2 separate regions of the Homo sapiens genome follow, and region 1 is linked to region 2. The links are contacts of gene promoters, found by promoter capture Hi-C in human tissues and cell types (Jung and others, 2019). All regions are on one chromosome and are shown on one strand. Each heading gives the region's core, a stretch centred on a gene start or on the middle of the fragment in contact. The rest is flanking DNA. Distances are from core to core; before and after follow the strand shown. Region 1 overlaps NR5A2 (nuclear receptor subfamily 5 group A member 2). Region 2 holds the start of ZNF281 (zinc finger protein 281).

Region 1 (2,700 bases), core at 154-2,653, 370 kb after region 2:
ACGAACCGCTGTCCTCCCACCCCCAACTCACTCAGCACTACGCGTACAGGGGATGGGGTTGGGGTAACTTGTTCCCTTCAGTTCTGCCAGCAATGTTGAATTGTCCAAATCCGAGCTGGCTGCGGGTGTCCGCCTGGGCTTTTGGTGTGGTCACATGTATTCTAATAGCGCTAAGACAATCCTTTCGGAGGTCACCTCTTTCTGTAGTTGACTTTCCTAGACTGGGTCGCCTCCCTCCACACAAGAGTACTGGTTGAAGTACAGTACACACCAATTCCAATGACAGAGAACCTGTTCGGGTGTCCAGTGAGACATTCCATTTCTTAGAATGATCTTATTATTCTAAAGTACCTTTAGCCTGAAGCTGCCCTGCTTGGGTTGCCATAGAGCTGGAAGCCTCTCTTTCCTTAATTAGAAGCGGCCAATTAGACGTTGCTTGGAAAAACCTCTGCCCCGCATTGTTCAAGAGCCATAAACTTTTATGCCTGCACCTGGGGAGGGGGCTTGACTCCCGCGGCTGCGAGCGCCCAGCGGGGCTACTCCCGCGCCCGCGCGGGGCGGGAGGCTGAAGCCTGCAGGGCGAGCCCGGGGGTGGGGAAGCAGCGGGAGCCGGAGCGCCGCGCGGCGCCTCCTTACCTTGCATGTTTTCCGGCATCTGGCCCTGTTCCCCATGCGATCGAGCCAGTCCCAGGGCTTCCGTCTCCACTTTGGGCAGCATGACAAGGCGACCGCGGGCGGGGATGGGGGATCCGTGTCGGTCCGGAAGCCCAGCACCTGGACACGGGCAGCACAGATTCAACTCCGGCGAAAAGAAGGAAGGGGCGACCGGGATGCCTGCTAACCCAACCCTCTCGCCTCGCCGGAGCGTGCCTCCGCCTCCTCGGGGCTGCCGGGCAGGACCTCTGAGCCCTGTCCGGTCTCGCAGCTCCGGAGCCGCCCCCAAGCTGCGAGGAGGAGGTCAGGGTTAAAAAAGGAGGCGAGGAAGACAGCGTCCCGGCCCTCTGGTTCGGCTCCGCAAGGGCGCAGGCGGCGGCGGTGGCGAGGACGCAGCTGCCCGGGGCGCGGAGCCGTGAACCGCCGAGCTCCCGGCGGGCAGCGGAGGCGACCGCGGGGCTGCTATTGCCGCCCCGGCTGTGCCGCTGCCACTGCTCCCGGACGGCTCGGGCGACTCCTTCCCCTCCCTCCACCGCCCTCTGGCTCAGGATCGGCAGGGGTCTCTCTCCTCTTTCTCTCGCCTCCCTTCTCTCTCCCCTCCTCTCCGCCCCTTCCCCCTATCTCTCTCTGCCTCTCTCTTGCTCACTATCGCAAGTGTGGAGTTGTGAAGTTCCAACCTCCCTCTCCTGCCTGGTCCACTCCCCGCGCGGGACCGAGAACGGCCCTTCCCAGCCCCGAGGGTGACGGTGCTGGGAAGGACAGGGGGGAAGACGAGGGGGAGAAGGAGGTAAGTAGGGCCAGGGGTTGGGGGAAGGCTGGATTGAGGGGTGAAGACAGTGAATGCGGACGCGGGTTCCGGACTCAGGTCGGACACTAGCCGCCAGCCAATAAGGATGAGGCTCAGGCTCCAGTCCCCCGGCCTGCCCCAACCTCTTCACCCCGCCTCACCCCCTCCCACCCCACCCTGGCCCGGGGCGGGGGGATGTAAATGCAGCCGGGTCTTACAGCTAGTCAGAAGCGACCTCTGTCTGAGCGTGGCGGCGAAGGAGAAGCAGCCAGAGCGGCAATTTCCTCGATCTGAGGGGAAGCAAGAAGAAGGGATGGGGGCGCGGGTGGGCGTGTGCCCTTGCTAGTGTGTCGGATGAGGAGATGAAGGGAGTTAAACACCCACTTAAACCATTGAAAGGAGAAAATTTAGCTGACCGTTCTTACATGCAGAGTTGGTCTGCGGTCAAGGGTCCTCCAGCTTCAACTCCCCAGGGCACTGAGACCCTGAAGAGGCGACACGTGGGCCCCGGCGCCCTGAAGGGGCCGAGGGTCAGCTCAATGAGAGGCGGGCCACAAGCCAAGAGCTCACTCATAGAATTAGAGGAAGGGGCAGCGACTCCTCTTTCCCCAGTCTGCTCCCTAGTCCCTTCGTTCACTTTTAAAAGACCCTCGACTGGAGCCCAAGATCATCTAAGCGACAGACTTTCCAGTTTTAGTGACCTGTGTTTCCACACGGAATACAAGGATCAGTCCAGGCTGTACTTTTTCATTCTGTTGTCTGATGGGACCATCCACTTGAGGCCGAGGCCCAGCATTTAAAAAATGTTTTAAAGAACCATCTGTTACGCAAGCTCTTCGACCACCAGCCCAGCCGCATCTTCAAAGTTTTCAGATCTCCTCCCAACAAGATGAAAAACATTCTTTCCAGCCTCCTGACTGCATGCGAAATGCCTCATATTTAGAATCTGCTGTGCAACGAAGTAATTATCAGAGTCCACCCACAAGGGGGTGAATTTGAATCTCAAAAGATCTAAGTTTATTCTATTTGAATGGTATAGAGATTACACATTGAAACTGCCCAATCCGGTATTTGGTGACTTGGAAATTATTCCAATCTTTGCAGTGCATAATGTACATAAAATGGGTTGTTCATCACCCACCCACACCTGGCAATTCAGGTACTACTGACTCTTAATTGATTTGTCATTTTGCTCTTCAATATATATTCAGGATCAAAGTTATTTAGACTTCAGCTTTAGTAGCAACTTCAGGTTTCGT
Region 2 (2,700 bases), core at 21-2,520:
AATCCCTATGGTTTCGATTGTGAAATTTCCCAGAGAATTTATTATTTAATTATGAGAAGTTATTTAGCTAGAAACATTGTGATGTACATGTAACTTCATTAAGAAAACATACTATGTAAATAAGCTGTTGTCATAGTTCTAGTTCTTTTATTTAAAATTTCTCATTTATAAATATCCTTTGCTAGGAAAGTGTCTGGTTTAGATTTCTGCATGCTTAACATGAAATCGAGTGCCTTGTGTACATTAGACACTGAATAAATATTTGTTGTTTGATTTTGTTGATATAACTTTGATTTTAAGATTTTACTTCATAATTTTCCCTTACAAGAAAAATTTCTAAATTTGCAATGAGTTTCTCGGTATTCTGTACTGGCGAGGAAAGAGTTGATCCTAGCAGAGCTCTTAGAATGGCCTGGTGGTTAATTTTTCATAAACAATATAAAGGGCCAGGCATTCATAACGTGGCAAACAGACTGATTAGCCAGGCTAAGGTACGGGGGCATTTAAATAAGATGTAATGATAATGAAGTATGTGTGTGGGCGTGTTTTACAGGACTGCTGCACCTGGATTACGCTCGGTTTCCTCTTCCAGTAGCCTTCAGGAAGGTTGGCAGTAAGACAAGTTTTTTTCTTTTTCTTTTTTTTTTTTTTGTTGCAACGGTACCACTAATTGCGGTTTCAAAGCAGGCTCCTCCCATAAATGCAAAGGATATGCGCCCATTATTAGTGCTTCCAAATTCAAAGGGATAACATAAGCACCTGTTTTAATAAATGTTGAGCATTTGGAGTTGAATGCTTCTTGATAGAATCAAAAGTGCCCTCAATGATCCACTTCTAGGTTTGAATTTTATTTCAAGACCTGGATTGCAAAACCTAGAGTGAAGAAAGCCCTAACATTGAATCCTCAGTTTCCCTCACCTTCTCTTCCAGCCCCTTTCTCTGCATCTCCCACGCCACGCTGTAGTACAGTCCCCCGTAACTTCCCGCCCCTTGGGTTCCACCTCCTGAGCGTCTTTCCCCCAGAAACCCTCAACCACTTTCATCTCCTTCAGTGCAGCCCACCAATCACGCCTGTTCGCCTCGAAAGCCCCTTTTTAGCAGGGCTCCAAATCCCCGCCTCCCCTGCCCTTGCTCCCCCGCCTCCGCCCAACGGCCCCAGTGATTGACAGGCAGGCCGGGCGGAAGCTGCGGCGCAGGCGCCCTGGCTCCTTAGCCCTCCCCTCTGGCCGGGTCGAGGAGTTCCCAGCAGACACTGCGCCGCGGCTGCGCAGTACACGGGAGGCTTTTAATTCCATTGTGGAGAGGACGGCGTTATTTTTATTAACTGGAGGCGACGGCGGCTGCGGCGGCGGCGGGACCCGTAAGTATTGCCGGTGGGTCCAGGAGGGAGAGGGCGAGGCCTGGGGAAGAGTCGCAGGACCATGCGTGCCGGTGCCGGAGGCGACTGGGCTGGGAATTAGTGCTGGGCGCGTTGCGGTCTGGGCGGCGGCGCGGCGGGGTCCTTAGCGCTGCGGTGGTCCCGGCCCGGGGCCCGGTTCCACCTCCTTTCCTCCCTCTTCCCTCTTCCTCCTCCTTTCTTCAGCCAGGCCTCCTCCGGGGTATGAAAATCGGCAGTGGGTTCCTGAGTGGCGGCGGAGGTACCGGCAGTAGCGGTGGTAGCGGCTCCGGCGGCGGTGGTAGTGGCGGCGGCGGCGGCGGCGGCAGCAGCGGCAGGAGGGCAGAGATGGAACCCACCTTTCCCCAGGGTATGGTTATGTTCAACCACCGTCTTCCCCCGGTCACCAGCTTCACCCGGCCGGCGGGGTCGGCCGCCCCTCCCCCGCAATGCGTGTTATCCTCCTCTACCTCCGCAGCCCCGGCCGCTGAGCCCCCCCCTCCGCCAGCCCCGGACATGACTTTCAAGAAGGAGCCGGCGGCGTCAGCCGCGGCCTTCCCCTCGCAGAGGACCTCCTGGGGGTTCTTGCAGTCTTTGGTTAGCATCAAACAGGAGAAACCCGCGGATCCTGAGGAGCAGCAGTCCCACCACCACCATCACCACCACCACTATGGGGGGCTGTTCGCTGGAGCTGAAGAGAGGTCTCCAGGCCTAGGAGGCGGTGAAGGGGGGAGTCACGGCGTCATCCAGGACCTCAGTATTCTCCACCAGCATGTCCAGCAGCAACCAGCCCAGCACCACCGTGACGTATTACTCAGCAGCAGTAGCAGGACTGATGACCACCATGGCACTGAGGAGCCAAAGCAGGACACTAATGTCAAAAAGGCAAAAAGGCCAAAGCCAGAATCTCAGGGAATCAAAGCCAAGAGGAAGCCAAGTGCATCTTCCAAACCTTCTTTGGTTGGAGATGGAGAAGGTGCCATCCTCTCCCCAAGTCAGAAACCTCATATCTGTGATCACTGTAGTGCTGCTTTCCGAAGCTCCTATCACCTGCGGAGACATGTCCTCATTCATACAGGAGAAAGACCTTTCCAGTGCAGCCAGTGTAGTATGGGTTTCATTCAGAAATACCTACTACAGAGACATGAGAAAATTCATAGTAGAGAGAAGCCATTTGGATGTGATCAGTGCAGCATGAAGTTTATTCAGAAGTACCATATGGAGAGACACAAGAGGACACATAGTGGAGAAAAGCCATATAAGTGTGACACTTGCCAACAGTATTTTTCAAGGACTGATAGATTGTTGAAGCACAGGCGCACATG

Evidence for each region. Contacts are between HindIII fragments. The study calls those that stand out against the background at their distance.
Region 1: a fragment that was not itself captured here is called in contact with the fragment with the promoter of ZNF281 in region 2 in 1 of the 25 tissues and cell types used here (mesenchymal stem cells).

The regions. Positions count from the first base shown.
Region 1 is chr1:200,037,732-200,040,431 of GRCh38, reverse strand. It overlaps NR5A2 (nuclear receptor subfamily 5 group A member 2), which reads right to left. Exons shown (of 8, transcript NM_205860.3): 2 at 637-774. Among named protein-coding and RNA genes, the nearest start is that of NR5A2, 11 kb to the right of the region's middle. RefSeq lists an enhancer at 1-19. The HindIII fragment of the contact is 6,014 bases long and covers 1-2,700 here.
Region 2 is chr1:200,408,606-200,411,305 of GRCh38, reverse strand. It overlaps ZNF281 (zinc finger protein 281), which reads left to right and starts at 1,270. Exons shown (of 2, transcript NM_001281293.2): 1 at 1,270-1,360; 2 at 1,583-2,700. The coding sequence starts at 1,601. RefSeq lists enhancers at 1-16, 692-741, 288-865, 866-1,443, 1,444-2,021 and a silencer at 1,082-1,261. The HindIII fragment of the contact is 25,771 bases long and covers 1-2,700 here.